6 separate regions of the Homo sapiens genome follow, and regions 1, 3, 4, 5 and 6 are each linked to region 2. The links are contacts of gene promoters, found by promoter capture Hi-C in blood cells and fetal thymus (Javierre and others, 2016). All regions are on one chromosome and are shown on one strand. The core of a region is centred on a gene start or on the middle of the fragment in contact, and the rest is flanking DNA. Distances in the headings are between cores, read along the strand shown. Region 1 overlaps VHL (von Hippel-Lindau tumor suppressor). Region 2 holds the start of CAMK1 (calcium/calmodulin dependent protein kinase I). Region 3 overlaps SETD5 (SET domain containing 5). Region 4 overlaps LHFPL4 (LHFPL tetraspan subfamily member 4). Region 5 holds the start of TATDN2 (TatD DNase domain containing 2). Region 6 overlaps FANCD2 (FA complementation group D2).

Evidence for each region. The method cuts DNA at HindIII sites, captures the fragments that hold promoters and counts their contacts. A CHiCAGO score of 5 or more calls a contact.
Region 1: a contact is called between a fragment that was not itself captured here and the fragment with the promoter of CAMK1 in region 2, in 1 of 17 cell types (monocytes). The highest score is 6.3, in monocytes.
Region 3: a contact is called between a fragment that was not itself captured here and the fragment with the promoter of CAMK1 in region 2, in 1 of 17 cell types (neutrophils). The highest score is 5.4, in neutrophils.
Region 4: a contact is called between a fragment that was not itself captured here and the fragment with the promoter of CAMK1 in region 2, in 2 of 17 cell types (M1 macrophages and M2 macrophages). The highest score is 6.1, in M1 macrophages.
Region 5: a contact is called between a fragment that was not itself captured here and the fragment with the promoter of CAMK1 in region 2, in 9 of 17 cell types (naive B cells, erythroblasts, monocytes and 6 more). The highest score is 8.3, in naive B cells.
Region 6: a fragment that was not itself captured here is called in contact with the fragment with the promoter of CAMK1 in region 2 in 8 of 17 cell types (naive B cells, monocytes, activated CD4 T cells and 5 more); the score reaches 9.9 in naive B cells.

What each region holds. Positions count from the first base shown.
Region 1 is chr3:10,147,259-10,150,132 of GRCh38, reverse strand. VHL (von Hippel-Lindau tumor suppressor) reads right to left here. Exons shown (of 3, transcript NM_000551.4): 3 at 1-346. The coding sequence ends at 168. Among named protein-coding and RNA genes, the nearest start is that of VHL, 6.9 kb to the right of the region's middle. The HindIII fragment of the contact is 5,547 bases long and covers 1-2,874 here.
Region 2 is chr3:9,768,069-9,771,678 of GRCh38, reverse strand. CAMK1 (calcium/calmodulin dependent protein kinase I) reads left to right here and starts at 1,732. Exons shown (of 12, transcript NM_003656.5): 1 at 1,732-1,847. It also overlaps a transcript of OGG1 not described here. RefSeq lists a silencer at 1,782-1,961. The HindIII fragment of the contact is 10,493 bases long and covers 1-3,080 here.
Region 3 is chr3:9,466,722-9,470,822 of GRCh38, reverse strand. It overlaps SETD5 (SET domain containing 5), which reads right to left. Exons shown (of 23, transcript NM_001080517.3): 19 at 1-364. Among named protein-coding and RNA genes, the nearest start is that of SETD5, 71 kb to the right of the region's middle. The HindIII fragment of the contact is 1,914 bases long and covers 1,504-3,417 here.
Region 4 is chr3:9,495,995-9,499,560 of GRCh38, reverse strand. LHFPL4 (LHFPL tetraspan subfamily member 4) reads left to right here. Exons shown (of 4, transcript NM_198560.3): 4 at 1-1,200. Among named protein-coding and RNA genes, the nearest start is that of LHFPL4, 56 kb to the left of the region's middle. The HindIII fragment of the contact is 1,526 bases long and covers 1,151-2,676 here.
Region 5 is chr3:10,247,397-10,251,500 of GRCh38, reverse strand. TATDN2 (TatD DNase domain containing 2) reads right to left here and starts at 3,042. Exons shown (of 8, transcript NM_014760.4): 1 at 2,434-3,042; 2 at 1,887-2,306. The coding sequence starts at 2,300. RefSeq lists an enhancer at 1,606-2,474 and a silencer at 2,727-3,156. The HindIII fragment of the contact is 1,674 bases long and covers 1,650-3,323 here.
Region 6 is chr3:10,030,138-10,034,171 of GRCh38, reverse strand. FANCD2 (FA complementation group D2) reads right to left here. Exons shown (of 44, transcript NM_001018115.3): 3 at 1,200-1,340. Among named protein-coding and RNA genes, the nearest start is that of FANCD2, 5.7 kb to the right of the region's middle. The HindIII fragment of the contact is 752 bases long and covers 1,257-2,008 here.

The sequences.
Region 1 (2,874 bases), core at 1-2,500, 380 kb before region 2:
ACAATGCCTAGTGAAGTCAGTTAACTTTCTTTTAAGCAATGGTGCCTATTTTACTCTGAGAATGAGACACTTTGAAACTAAGGAAGGAACCAGTCCTGTATCTAGATCAAGACTCATCAGTACCATCAAAAGCTGAGATGAAACAGTGTAAGTTTCAACAGAAATCTTCAATCTCCCATCCGTTGATGTGCAATGCGCTCCTGTGTCAGCCGCTCCAGGTCTTTCTGCACATTTGGGTGGTCTTCCAGATCTTCGTAGAGCGACCTGACGATGTCCAGTCTCCTGTAATTCTCAGGCTTGACTAGGCTCCGGACAACCTGGAGGCATCGCTCTTTCAGAGTATACACTGGAAGGGCAAAAACCAAATCCTCAGTGGCAGACTAGGGTCTCAGTACAAGGAACGAACAAGAGGCTTTGCCAACAACTACCTGTACTACTGATGGATCTCACTTTAGGTTAAAGAAAAAAAGTGAGTGCATGTATGTGGCAGTGTGTTATGCTGATGGCCCCCTATGGACACCTCATGGTGTTCATGCCTCTGTAGTAATTTCACCTTGAAATGGGCTGGGCTTGTGATTGCTTTAACTAACTGAATGTGGATGAAGCGACACTGGCAATTCTAGGCCGAAGCCTTAAAAAGGCCTGCTGACTTCTGCTTTTATACTTTTGAAAGCCCTGAGCTACCCTGCTAGAGAGACCACATAAAGAGGAACAGGCCCTGGCCAGGCATGGTGGTTCATGCCTGTGATCCCAACACTTTGGGAGGCCAACGTCAGTAGATCGCCTGAGCTCAGGAGTTCGAGACCAGCCTGGCAACATGGCGAAACCCCGTCTCTACAAAATACACAAAAAATTAGCCAGGCATGGTGGCACATGCCTGTGGTCCCAGCGACTGGGGAGGCTGAGGTGGGAGGATCACTTGAGCCCTGGAGGCAGAGGTTGCAGTGAGCTAAGATCATGCCACTGCACTCCAACCTGGGTGACAGAGTGAGACCCTATCTTGAAAAAAAAGAAAAAAGAAAAGAGAAAAAAAAAAAAGAGGGACAGGCCCAGCCCCCAGCTGCCAGCAAAAGGCAGCCACACCAACGACTACCACCAGCAGAGTAACTGCCTAGCTGAGCCCAGCCTGGACTACAGAATTATGAACAAATAAAATGGTGGGCTGGGCGCAGTGGCTCACGCCTGTAATCCTAGCACTTTAGGAGGCTGAGGCAGGCAGACTGCCTGAGCTCAAGAGTTCAAGATCAGCCTGGTCAACATGGTGAAACCCCCGTCTCCACTAAAATGCAAAAAATTAGCCAGGCTTGGTGGTGCACACCTGTAGTCCCAGCTGCTGAAGCAGGAGAATCGCTTGAACCCGAGAGGCAGAGGTTGCAGTGAGCCAAGATCACACGCCACTGCACTCCAGCCTGGGTGACACAGTGAGACTCTGTCTCAAAAAAAAAAAAAAGGTGGTTATTAGTTTTGGGGTGGTAGTCACAAAACACATAACCAAAACAATGTGTACTTAGAAAATCTAGGCCGGGCGCGGTGGCTCACGCCTGTAATCCCAGCACTTTGGGAGGCCGAGGCGGGCGGATCACGAGGTCAGGAGATCGAGACCATCCCGGCTAAAACGGTGAAACCCCGTCTCTACTAAAAATACAAAAAATTAGCCGGGCGTAGTGGCGGGCGCCTGTAGTCCCAGCTACTTGGGAGGCTGAGGCAGGAGAATGGCGTGAACCCGGGAGGCGGAGCTTGCAGTGAGCCGAGATCCCGCCACTGCACTCCAGCCTGGGCGACAGAGCGAGACTCCGTCTCAAAAAAAAAAAAAAAAAGAAAATCTAGTACAACTGAATTGGGTATCCCAATTCCTATTTTACACTCACTGGAAACGTACTCGAGGGTATTCTATAAGGCAAATTTACCAAATTTAACTTAGCAATGCTCATTTTTATATATCTACTTCCTTAAAACAGGATCTATACACACATAGTAGTTTGAATCCTATGAAACCCATGTATTTGGGGGGTTTTTGAGTTTTTTTTTTCTTTTTTTGAGACAGGATCTCACTCTGTCACCTGGGCTGGAGTGCAGTGGTATGATCATGGCTCACTGCAGCCTCAAACTCCTGGGCTCAAGGGATCCTCCCACCTAAGCCTCCCAAATAGCTGTGACCACAGGCATATGCTAAGATGCCCAGGTAATTAAAAAAAAATTTTTTTGTGGAGCTGGGGTCTCACTTTGTTGTCCAGGCTGGTCAAGAACTCCTGGTCTCAAGCGACCCTCCCGCCATAGCCTCCCTAAGTGCTGGAATTACAGGCATGATTACAGGCAGGAGCCACCACACACTGCTGGTCTTTAGTGAGGTTTTTTTTACCCACAGGAACATCAGTTTATTAGGGTTTACCCTGATAAAATCATTTGAGCTTCAAACAAATAGTGAAGTATTATACCAATCTTCAATGATTTAAAAAAAAAAAAAAACAGGCTGGACGCAGTGGCTCACGCCTGTAATCCCAGCACTTTGGGAGGCTGAGGTGGGCAGATCACCTGAGGTCAGGAGTTCAAGATCAGCCTGGCCAACATGGTGAAACCTCATCTCTACTAAAAATACAAAAATTAGCCAGGTGTGGTGACAGGCACCTATAACCCCAGCTACCCAGGAGGCTGAGGCAGGAGAATCACTTGAACCCAGGATGCAGAGGTTGCAGTGAGCTGAAATCGCACCACTGCACTCCAGCCTGGATGACACTGTGAGACTCTCTAAAAATAAAAATAAAAAAAAAAAAAACACCTCTGATTGGCACTGTGAGCTTGATTGTGTTAAATTGAAAATACATAGGCCAGGTGCTGTGGCTGATGCCTGTAATCCCAGCACTTTGGGAGGCGTAG
Region 2 (3,610 bases), core at 483-2,982:
GGGGGCTCAGCCCTGAGCAGGAAATGTATTTTTCCATGAACTAAGGAGTCTGAGATACTGAGATTTGGAAGATGGATCCCTTAACCCCTCATCCCTGGCCAAATCAAGTCCTCTCTCTGAGTCTCAGTTTACACTGAGTCTAGCTCTCATGTTTTGAATAGTGTTCTAGGCACTTCATATCATTATATCATAGAATTCTCAGAACTCTGAGTCAATCTTCAATATTCCCATGTTCCCGAGTAAGAAACTGAGGTTCGGAGAGGTAAAGCATGACCAGGATCAGTTAGACTCCAAAGCCTTTCCAGGAACCTCAGCTATCTTCCTCTCTCATCTGTAAGATGGGCATAATAAATTGGCCAGGTGCAGTGGCTCATGCCTGTAATTCCAGAACCTTGGGAAGCTGATTGGGGAGGATTGCTTGAGCCCAGGAGTTTGAGACCAGCCTGGGCAATATAGTGAGATCCCCATCTCTACAAAAAATAAAAAAGCCAGGTGTGGTGGCACGCACCTGTAGTCCCATCTACATGGGAGGCTGAGGTAGGAAGATGACTTGAGCCCAGGAGTTTGAGGCTGCAGTGGGCCGTGATCATGCCATTGCACTCCAGCCTGGGTGACAGAGCAAGACCCTGTCTTAAAAAAAAAAGAAAAAGAAAAAAAGAAGAAGAGAAAGAAAGAAAAAAGAAAGAAAGAAAGAGAAAAAGGAAATGAGCTGGGCATAAGCACTGTTCTCTCCCCATCACCAGCTGGAACATGCAAGAATTCAGGAGTAGGGAGTGGCACTTGGAGGCCCTTGGAGGTGGAGTGGGGTCCCAAGCAACGTGCCTCCTCCGGCTGCCCCCAGTTCAGCCCCATCCCCAATTCCTGCGAGTTGCTCCCCCCGCCCCCTCTTTCCACTCGGCACCAAATTTCTTCCCAAGGAAGGCCTTGAGCAAACCGACCTTTGGCCTCTTGCCTGCCGTCCTAGTTGCAGGCTCTCTCCCCTAACCTGGACCCCAGCCATCAAACTCTGGAGCCCCGCCAGTCACGTGACACCTCGGTCCTTTTTGGCCTGTTTCCTTCAGGATCCCGATTTAACTTCCTCCTCCCCAATTCCCTCTGCCCCCAATACCTCTAGGCACCACCACCCGCTCTGAGGAGCAAGTGTCTGGGGCTGAAGCCTCAGCTCCATCTTGCAGAGGAACCGGGGCCTCAGTCTTCCCACCTGTCAAGTGGGGCCCACACCCTGCGACCACCTCCACTCTCTTCATTGCCTAGTCTTGCCCGGTCCTTCCCCACTCCCTCACTCCCCCATCCCCCACCAGACTCCCGTGCAGTTCCAGGGCCTGTTTCCCTTCAGGGCACGGAGAAGGGAGACAGAGCCCTAAGGGAGGTCGCAGAACTGGTCTGAAAGAAAATCCACCAGGCCACAGGGTGAGTTTGGCCGGCCTCTAGCTTCAGACAGACGGGGTTCGAATCCTGCTTTGCTTCCGACCACCCGCTGATTTGAAAATCATCTCTCCGGGCCTCAGTTGTCCCCTCTGTGAAATGGACCCCGCTTAAGACCAAGGGCGGGAAGCGTCCAGCAGGAGATCTCTGACCAGAAGCAGGGAGATGGCCTCCACCCGTGCCCCTTCCCCAGCCTTGGAGCGGTGCCTCGCCTCCCAATCCCGGGTCCCTCCGCCGCAGGCTCCACCTCCACTGACATCAGAGCCGCAGGCGGGCGGAGAGAGCCGCCGAGCCGAGCCGAGCCCCAGCTCCAGCAAGAGCGCGGGCGGGTGGCCCAGGCACGCAGCGGTGAGGACCGCGGCCACAGCTCGGCGCCAACCACCGCGGGCCTCCCAGCCAGCCCCGCGGCGGGGCAGCCGCAGGTACAGCCGGGCCCCCCATCCCTGCACCCCTGGGCGCTGCGTGGGGGCGGTGGGAGCCCCTAGCCTCTGGGTATCCTTTCCCAAGGAGTGGCCACTGGGCACTCTCCCGGGCGGGCTGGACCCTGAGGGGCAGGGCTGGGCCTTTCTCCACCTCTGTCCCAGGCCCAGCAGGTGCCAGGCGGGCCTATGGGACACTGAGTGGGTAATAGAGAAGGGGGCCTGTGTGAGCGCCTTCAGCTGGGCCTGACTGGAAGGGCGTGGGCATTTGGAGGTATCCATGGGGTGGGGGGGCTTGCGGAGTGTACTGTCTTAGGACAGGCGTGTGGGTCAGACATGGGTGGAGGATCTGGGAATCTGTGTGTTTTTTGTTCCAGAGGGGTGTCCACGTGTTTTGTGTGCTGGTATTTGGCTCTCAGGGTCTTAAGTCAGAGTTAGGAGGGGGTGTACAATTGTGTACTGAGGATGTTTGGAGTTAGGTGTGTAAGGACTTGGGGTTTGGTTTGGAATACAGGAGCTTCCAGGGGATGGGGTAGAGGAGCTGGAGGGTGTAGGGTACGTCTGGTATATGAGGGTGTGTGTGTGTGTGTCTGGGTGTCATCTTGTGTGGGTGCGGGTGGATGTGTGTTTTGGGGTGTAAGAGGGAGCTGGGTGAGGGATGTTTGGATGGACAGGCAGGTGTTCGGGTGCAGGGCTGTCTGGGGCACTGTGTGGTGTGGACATGTGTGCTGATGTCTGGGAGTACATGTATGATCAGGTGTCACGGGATGTGGATACAAGGCGTACTGGATCTGGGAGGCAGGTGTTTGAGTTCAGGGCTGTGGAGGGGGCTTGGTGTGGCATGTCTGCTACAGGGATGTGTGTGGATCTGTGAGGGTTGTATTTGGTAGGCCTCCATGTGGGTTTCAGACTCTGCCTCTAGAGCTTACACTCGAGTCTCCTTTCCTAGAAGATTCTGCCCCTGGATGGGTGGGCAGGGTCCCCTGGGAAAAAGGTCCTGTTCCAGGAGTGGAATCTCACACCAGAGGCCCTAGTCAGGGCACCTTCTCCTCATTCTCCCTTAGAGAAAAAGAGAGAAGGAAAGTGCTCTCCCTGAGGTCACAAAGCATGCTGGGCTCTGTTTTGGCCTCATCTGTGGATGGGTTGGGAGGCTGTGTTCTCTGAATGGGGCCCATTCTGGCTTCATATTGGAAGTACCAGCCAAGGCCATTCGATGGCCTTTGCCCTCAGCAAGCTTAGCTGGGGGCCCCAGGCCAGGTGTCATTAGGGCCTCTGGAGCCAGCCTCTACCTAACTCCAACCTCAGTCTCCCCATTCTTCATCTGATAAATGGGAGAGAACTCCCACCCTCTCCTGCTGGATGAGACAGACCTCAGCAGAGGAAGGGCCAGGCTGGATAGGGTTAGATGGGGCCAGGAAGGGACAGAGTGAGCAGGACCATTTCTCATGCTCCCGGGACCCAGATGGGGAGTCAGGAGGGAGAGGTCTGGGGAGCTCCAGCTGTGGCTGTTGTTGCTGTGGTAACAGTGCAGAAAGAGCTATTTAAAAATGTGGCTGAGATGTTGCTGGAAGCCCAGGCTGCTGGAAACCTGATTTCGGAGAGGCCGGGGAGTCGGGGGAAGGAGGAGGGAAAGGAGACACCCCAGCAATCCCCAGGGTGGGGCGGGGACATCACTGGTTCTGGGGACAGGGGGATCCTCCAGGCTTCTACCAGCTGCTCTGGGGGTTTATCTGTTGTACTGCCAGAAGTCAGGGTTTCCCTAGGTG
Region 3 (4,101 bases), core at 1,211-3,710, 300 kb after region 2:
CATATCTGCTGGAAAATCCTTCTGCAGGGGAACAATATCCCCCATCCAAATGTAAAGGCTTCCTATCCCCCACTAGAGGAGATCCTCGATACAGTCCATCTGCTCGAGGCATAGCATTCAAAGGGGAGTAGGCATACATCAAGTTGAACTCTGTCCGAAATGCCTGGTCTGAGTTTCTCACGAGGGTCTGATGTCCATCTCCACTTCTGCTTGGGAAACCAGTCTCAGAAGTGGGTCCGAGGGAGGGATGAGGAGCCAGGTCAGAATGACCTGAGTTGAGTAGGGAAGGTCTATCAGCACAGCTGTTAGTGTTGGAGTCAAGGTATCCTACTTTTGCCAAATCCAGGTCTTTTCGGTGACAAAGCTGAAAGAATAAAAATCAACGGAGACATGGGGTAGGGGAGAAAGGAAAAAGTCAAAGGGCAGAAAGGAGGGGAGAGGGACACAGGTGAACAGGGAAAGATAAGAGGGACGGAAGTAGAGCAGATAAAGCCATTATATTCTGTAAAAGTCCCACGTAGCAACAGTGTACATGGGCCAGAGTACTAAAGAATCCTGGCCTTTCCAAAATTGCTTTCAAGTCTTTCTGGATGGGAAATACTGGGAAAGTTAGAATTAGGTAATTGGCTAAATGTGACTATTTTGCCTGCTTAGCCTTTCATCAGGTTGCTGAGTCACCTTGTACTACACTAAGGGACAAGTGGTATAATTAGGAATTTACCTTAGCCCCATGCACAAAACAAAGATGAGACTGGTGTCTTAAGATAACTGGCTTCCGGGGTTATCAATTTCTAAATTAATATTGATGGAAGGTGGGGGGAAGGGAAAAAGGTGGAGGAAGGAGAAGGTAGACGGAAAGGCAAGTACTTAAGTTACTGGTTCAGTAAAGGAGGATGGCATTAAAGACATCAACCAACCAGTTCTTCACTCACTTTCACTGTTAAAGAAGCTGTGTTTCTCATACAACTTTCTGGCCACTCAATTCTTCTTTATCCTCTAATGTACGTCAACATACCACAAGACCACTAATGCTCATCACTGCAGATTCTGAAATGCTGAAATGTACCAAAAATAAACCCCACCTACTATTTGGTTATCATAACCTCCAAACTTCCAACACTAGGTCAACTACAGCTAACCGACAAAGAATGGTACCAGAAAACCAGATACCATACCATATCAGTCTTCAAATTACGTTATCTTAGAATCTTTAACAACTGAGGAGAGAGAGCTTTACTTTCCTAACAAGCTAGAGTCAAAACACCAAGAAAATCTCTAATATACTAGTGGAATAAAACCTTTTTCAGTTTCATATTAACCTGTGAACTACTACTGATTCAGAACTTAGTAGACTGTCACTGAATTATGCCCTAATTTTTTATTGGAAGGGGATAGGGTTAAAGTTCAGTTGACTATTTCTGAGAGACTCTAACTTTCTCTTCAAGAGAAAAAAGGTCCCATGTATTAATAGATTCAGAGTTAATGTTACTAAATCTGAAAGCTTATAATAGAAACTCTAGCACTAAAATCTGAGTTTGACATATCCACAGCAGTAGGGTTTGTGAGAAAACCACTCTACTGATATCCTAAAGAGATAACACTTGTATAGCAACCATATCCTAACCATTGCAGAATGGTGGCCTGTGACAGAAAGCCAGGGACTCACTTGGTTTCCTTGTGCACCCAGTAAGGAGCTGCAGAGAAAATGTAGGAAAGCTGAAAGACAGAATGACTTTCCCTTCCTGAAGAAGCTGCTCAATCTATCAACCAAAGGTCAAAACATCTGGTTTACAGAGCTGTTAGATTAACCCTAGAACAAGGCATAAGTCACCACCCAACTCAAAAAACAGCTCTTACAACTTTTGACTCAACTTTCCTGATTTATTAGCCTTTCTTTAACAAGGCTCCTACCACATATCAGCATCTTGACTTCTAGATTCTATTCTTTAATAGAACTCCAGCCACCCCCTCCCCCAAACGGCAAAAACCAACCCCACCAAACACACACACAACACACACACACACAAACACACACGCTCCTACCTTCATTTTCCTCCATCTACATTGACAGTCCTGTGTAGTCACAGTCACACAGGAAGACTCATTCAACTTACTGTGACTGAGTGGCCGCCCTCCAGCCCATCACCCCACTGACTCAGATCCCCAGCCCTCCCCACACACTCAGGAACACATTCATGAACACTCACTCTCAGCCTCCAAGTGTGATTGAGATGGTGTGATAACTACCTCGGGTGACAGGGACTCGGGCCTATGCGCAGGGGAACTCTCAGGGGAGGATATGTTCTAGAGGAGGGAAAAGCATCTTGTTATTATTCATCTACTCGAAGTCAAGAAGCAAAACAAAACAAAAAATAAAAGCAAGCATAGATGTTAGCCATAACTTTTTTCGGGGGCGGGGAAGTTGAATAAGAATGCATAGGGGAAATATTTAACTGCAGAACTCATCTCAATGGACAGAATGACTTGTTAAAATGCTTCCTGGTATCTCTGAAAGCATTTAAGGATAAATTGGTTATAATGTTTCATGCTGTAAGTAAACATCTCAAGCACATACAAGGAAAGAGTTAGACTGGTGAAATTTTAGTGTTATACGTCTTTGTATTTTAGATGAGAGTTTAGCAACCTACAGTATTTGTTATTGAGGGGCACCCTACCCCTTATTCCTCCTTACATGGACCTTGTTCCTTCATCCAATGCCTCTTCTGCTTGTCACATTTCTTTATTCTCTTATATGCCTCAGGCCCTCCCAGTGCTATCCAGGGGGAGACATTAGTGTGCTGGGGGCTGACATGGTTAGGGAGATGGCCAGTTCCTCTTGAATGACAGTTACAGGAAATGTGATTGATGGAATCCCTAGCTCACAGGCTAGAGTTGGTTCTTGGCATAATCTAATTAGACCTGAGCCACCCCTATTAATGTTATTTTGTAAAATCCATTGTACTTTTGGCAACAGAGCAGAAAAAGCATGTATGTGTATACTTAGGTCCCTGTATCCTACAGAGGGTAGGACTTTACCTTGGGACTTTCAGGTGAGGCAGCAGTCCCATAACAGAGACTGAGCAGTGAGTGCTTAATGGAAAGATGTAAATGGGAACACGTGAAGAGAGTGAAGGTGGTAGTGTGACAATGACTCAGGGGTGCTAGGGCTGAGGTAAGGAGAGGGTGCCTAATGTAGACTCTGAATAACTGTGGCCTAGGTGGCAGGCACATGCTGAGGTAGGGGAAATGAGGCTGCTTCAGCAAAGCAGGGTTTTGGCTGTGAATTTTACTTGGCATGGACAGTGGGTGGTGTACATCTAGGTGCACGTATGTGTGAAATGGCGGGTGGAGTATGGCTCTCAGGGCAAGAATAGGAGGGGAGGGTTATTCTGGTAGAAAGGAGAGGCTAACTAAGCTTGTCCTCCCAATGTTGCTTCCACTCTTCTTTCTAGATGCTTTCCCCTCCTGAAGATCTTGTTCTCTTCCACTGTTTATCTTCTTACCTTCTTCCCCTTAGCACTTAAGACTTCTCACCATTTTCCTGAATGCTTTTTTCCTTCTCAAAAATATCCTTCCCCAAACTAATCTAGTAAGGTTGTTTTTTTTTTTTTTTTTTTTTTTTTGAGAGAGAGTCTCCCTCTGTTGCCCAGGCTGGAATGTGGAATGCAGTGGCGCAGTCTTGGCTCCCTGCAACCTCCCAGGCTCAAGCAATTCCTTTGCCTTGGCCTCCCGAGTAGCTGGGATTACAGGTGTGTGCCACTGTACCTGGCCTAAGCTGGTCTTTAAATTATTTTTAGAGATGGGATCTCACTGTTGCCCAGGCTGGCATGTAGTGGCACAATAATGGCTCACTGCAGTCTTAAACTCCTGGTCTTAAGTGATCTTCCTGCTTCAGCCTCCCAAGTAGCTGGGACTACAGGTATATGCCACTACACCTGGCTAAGTTTTGTATTTTATTTTTGCAGAAATGTGGTCTCACGATGTTACCCAGGCTGGTCTCAAACCCCTGGCCTCAAGCAATCCTCCTGCCTCAGCCTTCCAAAGCACTGTGATTACAGGTGTGAGCCACCATGCCCAGCCTAAGCTGGTCTTTATACGTGA
Region 4 (3,566 bases), core at 664-3,163, 270 kb after region 2:
GGAGGCTAGTTCCCTGGTGGGGTAGCCTGGCAACATTCCCATTCCACCGCACCTGGCCAGCTGCCATCTTGGCAGAGCCAGGGGGAGATGCACCAGGGAGTTTGGAGTCAGGAAGGCAGAGTTGTGTGGGCTGAAGTCTGCGGGAACCCCAGGGTGACACAGGCAAGGGGTAGAAGTCAGAGTGGGGACCAAACCATAGACTGGGGCCCTGGGTTCTGCAGAGGTGTGGATGGGGCAGGTGGCAGGTGCTCCAGTGGGGGCCCCAGGTGAGGCCCTGATGGCCCTCCTGGGGCAATAAAGACATCATGGGAAGGGGGCTTTGTGGTTTGCCTCTGCTCTCGTCGGGCGATCTGGCTTTAGCCTTCAGGAGGAGGTAAGCAGAGGAGATCAGTGCCTGTTTCTGACCCCAGGAGGGCCTTGTTGGGCTCCAACCTAGAGCCTTCCGGCTTCAGGTCCCAAGAGAAGTCCCCCCCTAACTGTGACCCCCCTAACTGTGATCAGGGGTCTGCCATTGCCCGCTTTTCTCTGCCTGATCTGGGGACTCAGGAGAGGCCACGGCAGCCACAGCCTAGGGGTGGTTCAGTCCCTGGCCCACAGTCTGGTCAGTTGAGTCCTTCTGGGAACCGGGGCTATGAAAACTTTCGTCTTTGGGGACCGGTACCCATGAAGGAAAACTTTCCTGAGGGGGTGAGGACCAAAGAATCAAGATCCTTTTCAGGCCTGATAGCCAAGATGATGAGAACTTTTAGATAAGGCTGTGGGGAGAGTCCCTGGCCTTTTGAGCATCCTGCTTGGGCACACGGGGAATAACCTTTCTCCAGCTTCCAGTGTGAACTGAGAAAGAGAAAGGGAAACCCTGTCTTTGGAGAAGCTGGGATGTTCCCAGCACCAGAAACTTCTGCAGGCCCCTGCCTGGCCCACGGCTAACCTTTGGGTGGGACTGGAGTTTCCTGAACAGGGAACAAGGGAGCCTTCCGCAGAGCTCTGATGGGCAGGCCTCCGAGGGCCTGTGCTGTGTGCTGTTAGGATAGCTTGGTGTTGTCTATACCCCATTAGTAAGTTTTGTCTGAGTGTGTCCTCGCTGTTCATTGTCTAATTTGGTAACATTTATTTTGGTCCTGACCCCTTCTGCTGCTGCTGGGTTTAAGCTTCAGTGCAGGTGGAATGACATTCAAATAAAGAAACACTTTCTATCACCCACGCTGGCTGCCACTTCTCTGAGTCACTGGGATCAAGAGGGGTAAGATTCCAACCCTATGGATCAGGTTTGTCTGGTATTAACAGAACCCTACTACTGTGGCTTAACAAGATAGTTTATTTTACCATCACATTAAAAAAAAAAAAAAAAAAAAAAAAAGCCTGGAGGTGGGTAGATCACGGCTGATATGGCTCTCAGTGTTATCCAGAACCCAGGCTCCTATCTTTCTGCACTGCCATTTTCAATCCTGGCTACATCCTCAAGAACACCTCATGGCCCAACGTGGGCTGCTGGAGCTCCAGTCACCTGGTCCACATTTCATTTGAAGACTTCTGGAAATTCCATAGGACTGTGTCACTTGGGCCACATAACAGTAAAGGAGGCTGAAAAAGTGTGGTCTGTTATCTCGGCGCATTGCCAGCCCAAATAAAACTGGGGTTCTTGGCCGGGCAAGGTGGCTCATGCCTGTAATCCCAGCATTTTCAGAGGCTGAGGTGGGTGGATCACCTGAGGTCAGGAGTTTGAGACCAGCCTGGTCAACATGGCAAAACCCTGTCTCTACTAAAAATACAAAAATTAGCCAGGCATGGTGGTGCGTGCCTGTAATCCCAGATACTCAGGAGGCTGAGGCAGGAGAATTGCTTGAACCCAGGAGGCGGAGGTCGCAGGGAGGTGGGATGGCGCCATTGCACTCCAGCCTGGGCAACAGAGCAAGACTCCGTCTCAAAAAAAAAAAAAAATAGGGTTCTGATACAAAGGAGAAAGGAGTGAATAGAGAGAGGGATACAGTAATCTCTGCACACCTCTGACAGCACAGGCACGACTTGTCCAAGTCCATACAGGCAGAAAAGAGTAGAGCCTCATCTGCTCTAGCCAGAGTGCTCAGTCCAGTCACTTTGCCTCTCTCTAAAGCCCCATTGAATAAATAGAGAAAACAATAGTGACTCCCCCAAGGGAAGCTGTAAGCAACATACCAGGGAATATATGCACTTTGCTCTGCAGGGTATCTGGCACGCTGTAATGTGCGCAGTACCAGGTAGCTACATTGAAGACTTGGAAATGGAGTCCTCTTCCAACACATTTTAAGCACTTAGTGTATGCTAAGCACTTAAGCTAGAAAAAAAATGAGCAAAACAGAGATGCTGTCTTAAGCATAATTCTGGTTGGGGAGATGAACATGTGAAAATAACGCATGACTTGCCACATGCAGGGTATTGTGGGTATCCTAGGCAGGAATACTTTAAATGGCTTTTGGTGACGTGGGCAGCGTAGGAGGAGGTCTTGCTGTAGGATGAGAAGTTAGGCAGGAGGGGTCAGGAAGGTCAAAGAGAAGGCAGCTTGAGGAAAAAGACTGAGGTAGGCAGCAGAACTGTGTATGGAGGACGAAAAGCAACTTAGTTTGAAATGTGAAGTACGAGGCAGGGAGGAGTCAGAGATGAGTCTAGAGAGACAGGCGAGGGCCAGACCATGAGAAAGCTTGGGGGCCATGGACAGGAGTTTGGACTTAAGAGCAATGGGGAACCACTGAAGGATTTGAAGCAGAAGGAAAAATGACTCAATTTGCATTTTAGAAAGAGCACTCTGGTGGTAGCATTAGGGGGCTGGATTAGGGGTAGACTGTTAGCCCATTTCTGCATTGTTATAAAGCCATACCTGAGACTGCATCATTTGTTTTATTTATTTATTTTGAGATGGAGTCTCCCTCTGTTGCCCAGGCTGCAGTGCAGTGGCACAATCTCAGCTCACTGCAACCTCAGCCTCCCTGATTCAAGTGATTCTCCTGCCTCAGCCTCCTGAGTAGCTGAGATTACAGGTGTGCACCACCACACCCGGCTAATTTTTGTATTTTTAGTAGACATGGGATTTCACCATGTTGGCCAGGCTGGTCTCAAACTCCGGGTCTCAAGTGATCCACCCGCCTCAGCCTCCCAAAGTGCTGGGATTGCAGGCATAAGCCACTGCACCTGGCCTGCATAATTTATTTTTATTTTTTTGAGACAGGGTCTTGCTCTGTCACCCAGGCTGGAGTGCAGTGGTGAGATCACAGTTCACTGTAGCCTCAACTCCCAGGCTCAAGCAATCCTCCCACCTCATTCTCCCAGGTAGCTGGGACCATAGGCACCACCATGCCTGGCTATCTCTTTTTTTTTTTGAGATGGAGTCTCACTCTGTTGCCAGGCTGGAGTGCAGTGGCATGATCTCAGCTCACTGCAACCTTTGTCTCCCGGGTTCATGCAATTCTCCTGTCTCAGCCTCCCAAGTAGCTGAGACTACACACGTGCACCACCACGCCCAGCTAATTTTTGTATTTTTAGTAGAGATGGGGTTTCACCATGTTGGCCAAGATGGTCTCGATCTCTTGACCTCG
Region 5 (4,104 bases), core at 1,237-3,736, 480 kb before region 2:
GGCAGGAGAATTGTTTGAACCCAGGAGGTGGAGGCTGCAGTGAGCAGAGATCATGCCACTGCAGTCTACCTTGGGTGACACAGTAAGAATCTGTCTCAAAAAAAGAGAATACAATTCTAAGGGAATTGTCCCTTAGAATAAAATCCATTGTCCTTAGGATAAAATCCAAATTCCCTTGGCTACTAAAACCTTGCTGCAATCCACCCCCTACCTCGCTCTCCAGCCTCCATTCTGGGCTCACTACTCCATCATACCACATTGTGGGCAGTCATGCGACCACTCCTCCAGCCCTCCCACCAGACTGCTCCCTAGAAGCTCATCACTCCCAGACCCAACAGTGCGTGGCCCACAATAACCCTCAAGTGCTTCTACTGAAACCATTAAATTGGGTTCTTGCAAAACAAGGCCCCTTTAGCCTTAATGAGAGAAAGGTGGGTCCACCTACAATTAGACCCACCCAGATTAGAGACCACACCCTCAAACCTGAGTTCCAGGTCTTTAGGACAGCCAGGGATTCAGCACACCTGAAAGACTATGTAAAGTAAATTTCCTGCCTCTCCCAGTAACAGGTTTCACTCTATCTACAAATTGTCAGTGAAGCTAAATTGAATCAACTGGTATTATTTTATGCTGTACCCAAGTCTACTGAAATTGTATCAAGGATTAATGGCAAGATTAACTTGTATGAGCAAAGTCCCATACTTACCTGATTTGAGACAAATTCAGCATTCCTACGCTAGAGACAGGGCTTTTCAACTCACTGTTATTTGTGAATTTAAAAAGAAAAAATCCACGTGCCCACACAAGAGTTCAGACAGTGAGGTCCACATTGAAAAAACCAGGGGCACTTAGCCTATGAGTCCCCAAGACAAACAGTCAAATACAGCCTCCTTTCTCAGCTACACAAAAGAAACCACCAAGGCTAGGCTTAAAAACAAACACATATTCCTTAGGGCCTGTTTTAATTGCTTTTGTAAAGTAATTTTCTCTAGAGGCAGCCCATCTGATCCCAAATAAGACTGTTTCTCCACTCCTCCACAGGCAGAACTTCTCACTTCTTAAGACTCAGACCTTCAAAATCTAGGATGCAAACTCTAAGGGGAAAGTGATCTGTTTTGTTAGTAAAGAATCCCAAACACCTAGAACATTGCCTGGCACAAACTAAACCCTCAACACATATTTGTTCAAAGCCTTGATTGAGTAGATGAGCGAAATGTATCTTCTCTGTGAAGCACTCCTTGGTCTGCTCAAAGTACTTATGAAACCCTCTTGCATGTTTCCATTAGGGAATTAACAATTTAACCTCCAAAAAAAAAAGAAAAAAAAAAAAAACTAGCACCACCAAGCAAAACCCCAACATGCTGGAAACTATGACTTTGGAGAAAAGCTACACCAAGAACCGCAATTCTTGGTTCTGTGATTCAGAGTGGTTCAAAGTACAAGGGCACACAATTCTTTAAACTGACAACTAAAATAAATACATTCTTCTCTTGAGCACATAATCCACCTTCTACTGCAGTGATTCTCCAACGGGGCTGCACGTTTACAATAACCTGGGGAGCACTGAAAAATCTGGAAGCCCAGACCACACCTCAGCCCAATAAATCAGTTTCTCTGGAGTAGGAGGCAGGCCCAAGTATTTTAAAGCTTTCCAAGTAGTTCCAAAGTGCTGCCGAGTTTGAAAATTACCTCTCTACTTAACTTCAGGCCACGCGCCTGGAAGACTGCTAGGTCTTCGAGTTTGGGGGGAGTGGACTTCTAGAAAGACCTTCCAGACCTTCAAGGATGTAATGTTTTGTAGTCTCCTTCCACCAAAATTCCCATCCCCAACCTCTCAAGCCATGTGGAAGGGGCTTCACCGATTGCAAAGCGTGGCAGCCACCTACCTTAAGGCTGCAGGCTTCCTCCTCTAGAGAAGCCATTTCTTCCAAAGAGGCGTTGGCAGGACGCAGAGGGGATCCCCCTGAAGACAGGAACCCCCGAGTGTTCCGAATCAGGCAGCCTTTGGAGGCGGCCCCGCCCACACCAGGGCCCAAGAAATGTGGGGAGAAGGAGGAGGAGGAGTTATTTCTGCGGCGGGATGAGCCCCAGGATAACCTCCGCGAGCAAGCCACATCGTCCTCCTTCTGGGCTTTCAGGCGCTTGGGGCTGCTGGGCCCTCCAGAACGCGACGCAGACCTCTGAGCTGGCCGGCTGGAGGGGGCCACATCACAGGGCTCCCGGAGGCAGCTGCGCTTGCGGGGACACCCTTCCGACGTGCTGCTCCAGTTGTGCTTGACCTTGCCCCGCTCGGACGCCATGGGCACCTGCAAGGTACAGGGGGCCTGGATTCCAACACCACCCTTCCTGGCGACCCCACCTCAGATTCCCGCCACCCCGGGCCCAGGAGGACGGCAAGACATAAGGGCAGAGCCAGGGGCTAGCCTCACTGACCTTTCCCTCTTCTTTCCACTGCCCATCACAGTTCTCAAGGTTTCAGAGATGCCAAACCGTGTTGGAGAAGTCAAAGCGATCCAAAATTGACTAAAGGCTGCCGTCGGTTTCCAAGCCCACAACGTGCTTCTGAGATCAGGAAGCCTTCACTTTGCCCAGCGCTACTTCGGAGATGCCTAAGCGCTTCCGGGGCTACGAAGCGCTTTGATCAGTTTGCAATATAAAGCCCTTTAGAACTGTCAAGCGCTTCAGAAGACCACATGGCGCTTCAAGATCCACACATGGCTGCCGGATCCGCGGCCCCGGGGCCGGGCGCTTAGCCCGTAGGCCAGGGCCAGACCCGGGCGCCGCAGCCCGCCCTGCTCCTGCGGCCCAACCAGACCCGGGCCGGAAGGGGCCCGAGCGGCCCCTCGGGAGCTGGCAGCGCCCTCGACCGCCAACTCAGGACGCCCCCCGCCGGCTGCCGCAGCTGTCCCGCCGGGCAGCCCGCCGCCTGCCCCAGCCCTACAGCCCCGCCTGGCCCGGCCTCCGCCCGAACTGCGACCACTCCGGCCTCCGTGGCGCCCGCCCTCCGGAACGAGCCCTGCGGCCCGCAGGCCGGAGAGCGACAGGGGCGGGGCCTGCGCCAAACGGAAGGCGCCCATTGCTCGACCCGGCAAGGGGCGGGACTCCGAGCAAGACGCAGCCCGCCTCAAAGCCAGGCGCCTTGGAGTCGGGACGGTACGCCTTAGGAAGCTCGTCCATTGGTCAGAAGCCAGATGGGGCGGAGCCACTCACGTGGGCTCGAACAGCGGGAAGTTGAGGCCAGCCAGATGTGCAGGCAGGTGGTGTCCGCTGACGCGCCTCACTTAACGCTGTTTTCCTCAGCGCCGGCCGCTGTACCTGAAGCTTTCAGACCTGGATTTCTCATCGAGCCAAAGCAAACCGTGTACTGAGCATTATCACCCCACTTTATAGAGCAGAAAACTGTGGCTCAGAGAGACTAAGTACACACCCAGAAATGGGAAGAATTAGAATTAGAAGGCACCAAAAAAAAAAAAAAAAAGACTACACAAAAATGTGAACTATCCGCCTGGTGAAAAATATTAAAGACGGCTGGGCACGGTGTCTCACGCCTGCAATCTCAGCACTTTGGAAGACCGAGGCGGGAGGATGGCTTGAGCTCGGGAGTTAGAGACCAGCCTGGCCAGCATGGTGCGACCCCCATCTCTACAAAAAATAAAATTAGCTGGGCGTGATGCCAGCTACTCAGGCTGAGGTGGGAGGATCACTTGAGGCCGGGAGGTCGAGGCTGCAGTGAGCTGTGATCCCGCCACTGCACTCCAGCCTGGAGGACAGAGCAAGACCCTGTCTCAAAAAAGAAAAAAAATCAAAGACAAGGTACAAATTCAGAAAAATACTCGAAACATATGACAAAGGGCTGATATTCGATGTAGCAATTCTCCCAAAATAATAAAATAACTTAGTATTAAGACTGGCAAAGGAGGCTGGGTCCAGTGGCACACGTCTGTAATCCCAGCACTTTGGGAGGCCGAGGTGGGTGGATCTCTTGAGGCAAAGAGTTCGAGACCAGCGTGGGCAACATGGTGAAATCCTGTCTCTAGTGAAACACAAAAATTAGCCTGGTGTGGTGGTGGGCGCCTGTAGTCCCAGCTACTCAGGAGGCTGAGG
Region 6 (4,034 bases), core at 383-2,882, 260 kb before region 2:
TTTTGTATTTTTAGTAGAGACAGGGTTTCACTGTGTTAGCCAGGATGGTCTCGATTTCCTGACCTCGTGATCCACCCTCCTCAGCCTCCCAAGTGCTGGGATTACAGGCATAAGCCACTGTGCCCAGCCCAGAGTCATGGGGTTGTGTCTAAACCCACATAAAAGACTTAGCTTTGGCTGGGCGCGGTGGCTCATGCCTGTAATCCCAGCACTTTGGGAGGCCGAGGCAGGTGGATCACAAGGTCAGGAGATCAAGACCATCCTGGCTAACACGGTGAAACTCCGTCTCTACTAAAAATACAAAAAATTAGTCAGGCATGGTGGCGGGCGCCTGTAGTCCCAGCTACTTGGGAAGCTGAGGCAGAATGGTGTGAACCTGGGAGGTGGAGCTTGCAGTGAGCAGAGATCGCGCCACTGCACTCCAGCCTGGGCGACAGAGCAAGACTCCGTCTCAAAAAAAAAAAAAAAAAAAAGACTTAGCTTTGATAGCAGATAGCCACTAAGTGTTCTAAAAAAGACCTGCCATAACCTTAGCAAGATAGAATAATCTGCTCCCCCAAAACAGAATCTTATATGGCTTTATAAATTTTCTTCTGAAATTATTCTGACACTGATACAGCTGCTTTCTGGATATTTATTTTTTCATAAGAAAACACAAAATAAATAATATATAATATTTTTTCTAATAAAAGGATGAGAAATGCTTTACTTAAGACATAGTAATGAGGACCAAAGACTGTACCATTTTCTTTTTCCATTTTTGTTTTTTGGAAATGGAGTCTCACTCTTGTCGCCCAGGCTGGAGTGCAGTGGTGCGATCTTGACTCACTGCAACTTTCACCTCCCGGGTTCAAGCAATTCTCCTGACTCAGGCGCCCAAGCAGCTGGGACTACAGGCACATGCCACCATGCCCGGCTAATTTTTTATATTTTAGTAGAGACGTGTTGCCCAGGCCGGTCGCAAATTCCTGAGCTCAGGCAATCCGCCTGCCTCGAGCCTCCCAAAGTGCTGGGATGATAAACGTGAGCCACCGCGCCCGGCCTGACTGTACCATTTTCTAAAAAGCAATTTCAACTTTGTCTCAAGATGGATGGCCCTCTGATTTCTAATCTTCATTGCCTCTCTATTTAGAAAACCCATGATTCAGTCCTGAACTATTTCATTAAACCCAGAGAATAAAATTAGATTAAAATATTACCTAGTTGATTCTGACTCTCTCCCGTTTTAAGAATAATTCCTGATATCTTAAGAAGCTTTACAAAGATGCTGTCATTTTCTTCAACTTCATTAGCAATATGAGATTTCTTTGTCTTTTTGGAAAGTGGTTGCTTCCTGGTTTCTGAAAATAGAAAAATTTTCAAGAATATGGCAAATAGTAAAGGAAAAATTAAAACTTAAACCCAGGAATAATAATCATGAGAGGAAAACTGATGTGTCCTTAAAAATTATACTAGGATTGATGCTGTAGTGAAATAAACTGTCTTCAGCAATAGTGGCTTCCAAAACAAACAAATAGAATTATTTTCACCTATTTTCATTTGAAGAATTCAAAATGTGCCATTTCTGGCCAGGCAAGGTGGCTCATGTGGTAATCCCAGCAAATTAGGAGGCCAAGGCAGGAGGATCACTTGAAGCCAGGAGTTCAAGACCAGCCTGGGCAACAAAGTGAGACCACCCCCCCATCTCCCCCCCTTCACCCCCATTCCCCCCCTCCACACACAAACTAGTTAGGTGAGGAGACGCACACCTGTAGTCCCAGCTACTTCGGAGGCTAAGGCGGAAGAATAACTTGAGCCCAGGAGGTTGAGGCTATAGTGAGCTATGATATTACCACTGCACTCCAGCCTGGGTGACAGAGTGAAATCCCCATCTCTAAAAAAATAAATTCAAACAAATAAGTGCCTAACAAGAATAACCCACAGAAATGTTTTCCACCCAAATACTAAACTAGCCAGTGTCTCTCAAGCTGTTGCCTGCAAACCACTGTACTGGAATCCCTGGGAAGCTTATTAAAATGCATATTTCCGACCCAGCACAGTGGCTCACGCCTGTAATCCCAGCACTTTGGGAGGCCGAGGCAGGCTGATTACCTGAGGTCAGGAGTTCAAGACCAGCCTGGCTAACGTGGTGAAACCCCATCTCTACTAAAAATACAAAATTAACTGGGTGTGGTGGCGTGCGCCTGTAATACCAACTACTCGGGAGGCTGAGGAGGAGAATCACTTGAACCCGGGAGGCAGAGGTTGCAGTGAGCCCAGATCGCGCCACTTCACTCCTGCCTGAGCAACAGAGTGACACTCTGTCTCAAAGGAAAAAAAAGGCATATTCCATGCCATATACCAGAGTTACTGAGTCAAAATCTTGGGAATGGGACCTAGGAATCCGAATTTTTTATGTTCTTCAGATAATAATCCTGATACACACCAAATTTGAGACTCAATGATCTGAATAAAGGGTAGACAGAATGGGGAAGGTTCTTTGTATCATATCTTTGACTACAATGCTCAGATAGGTTTAATCCCAAGACTTTCAACCCATAAAAAGAAATAAGAAACAAGAAACAAACAGGTACTTGAAGCCAAGTTTAAAATTTACTCTTCTCCCTTAATGATGCCATTTTGTTTTTTCCTTCTTCAATTCCTCTCCCTCTTTCTTTTTTTTTTTTTTTTGAAATGGAGTCTTGCTCTGTCGCCCAGGCTGGAGTGCAGTGGCGCGATCTTGGCTCACTGCAAGCTCCGCCTCCCGGGTTCATGCCATTCTCCTGCCTCAGCCTCCCAGTAGCTGGGACTACAGGTGCACACCACCACGCCCGGCTAATTTTTTGTATTTTTAGTAGAGACGGGGTTTCACCATGTTAGCCAAGATGGTCTCAATCTCCTGACCTCGTGATCTGCCCGCCTTGGCCACCCAAAGTGCTGGGATTACAGGCGTGAGCCACCGTGCCTGGCCTCCTTTCCCTCTTTCTAATAAAGCCTTAATCAGAATGAGACAAAGACCACTACCTTCCTGAATGAAATGTAAAACACAACCAGAATGAAAGTTTCAGTTTGTTCATTACTGACCAAGAGAACCCAAATCCCTTCTAATAAACTTAATTCAGAAGTCTCTTCTCTTTTGGAGAACAGTATTTCCAAAGTATAACATTTACTTTCAGTAATTTCCTATATTATTCCTCTTCAGTTTCAAATTTTCTACCAATTTCTCTATATTCTAATTCTAGAACCCCATTACTAATCAACCATTGGAGCTTCACAACTTCCTTTTTTTTTTGAGATAAGAGTCTTGCTCTGTTGCCCCGGCTGAAGGGCAGTGGCGTGATCTCAGCTCACTGCAACCTCCACCTCCGGGGTTCAAGCAATTCCCCTGCCTCAGCCTCCCGAGTAGCTGAGATTACAGACACGTGACACCACGCCCAGCTAATTTTTGTATTTTTAGTAGAGATGGGGTTTCACTATGTTGGCCAGGCTGATCTTGAACTCCTGACCTCAGGTGATCTGCCCGCCTTGGCCTCCCAAAGTGCTGGGATTACAGGTGTGAGCCACTGTGCCCGGCCCACAGTTTCCGTTTCTAAATCAAGCCTATTCCTTACATGGTTTTGGACTCACAATTTTTATCATTATAATCACTGTTCAGCAAGCATTTTCATCTATTTCGGTTGAATTGACCAAGAATCAGACTTAACTTCCAATAACCTAGTAAGAAATAACTCTTCAATCCACAAGTCAGTAGAAGCTAAGCTATGAGAATGCAAAGGCATTAAGAATGACATAATGAGGCCAGGCATGGTGGCTCACGTCCGATATCCCAGCACTTTGGGAGGCTGAGGTGGGTGGATTACCGGAGGTCAGGAGTTTGAGACCAGCCTGACTAACACGGTGAAACCCCTTCTCTACTAAAAATACAAAAATTAGCCAGGCATGATGGCATGTACATGTAATCCCAGCTACTTGGGCGGCTGAGCCAGGAGAATCGCTTGAACCCGGGAGGCGGAGGTTGCAGTGAGCCAAGATTGTGCCACTGCACTCCAGACTGG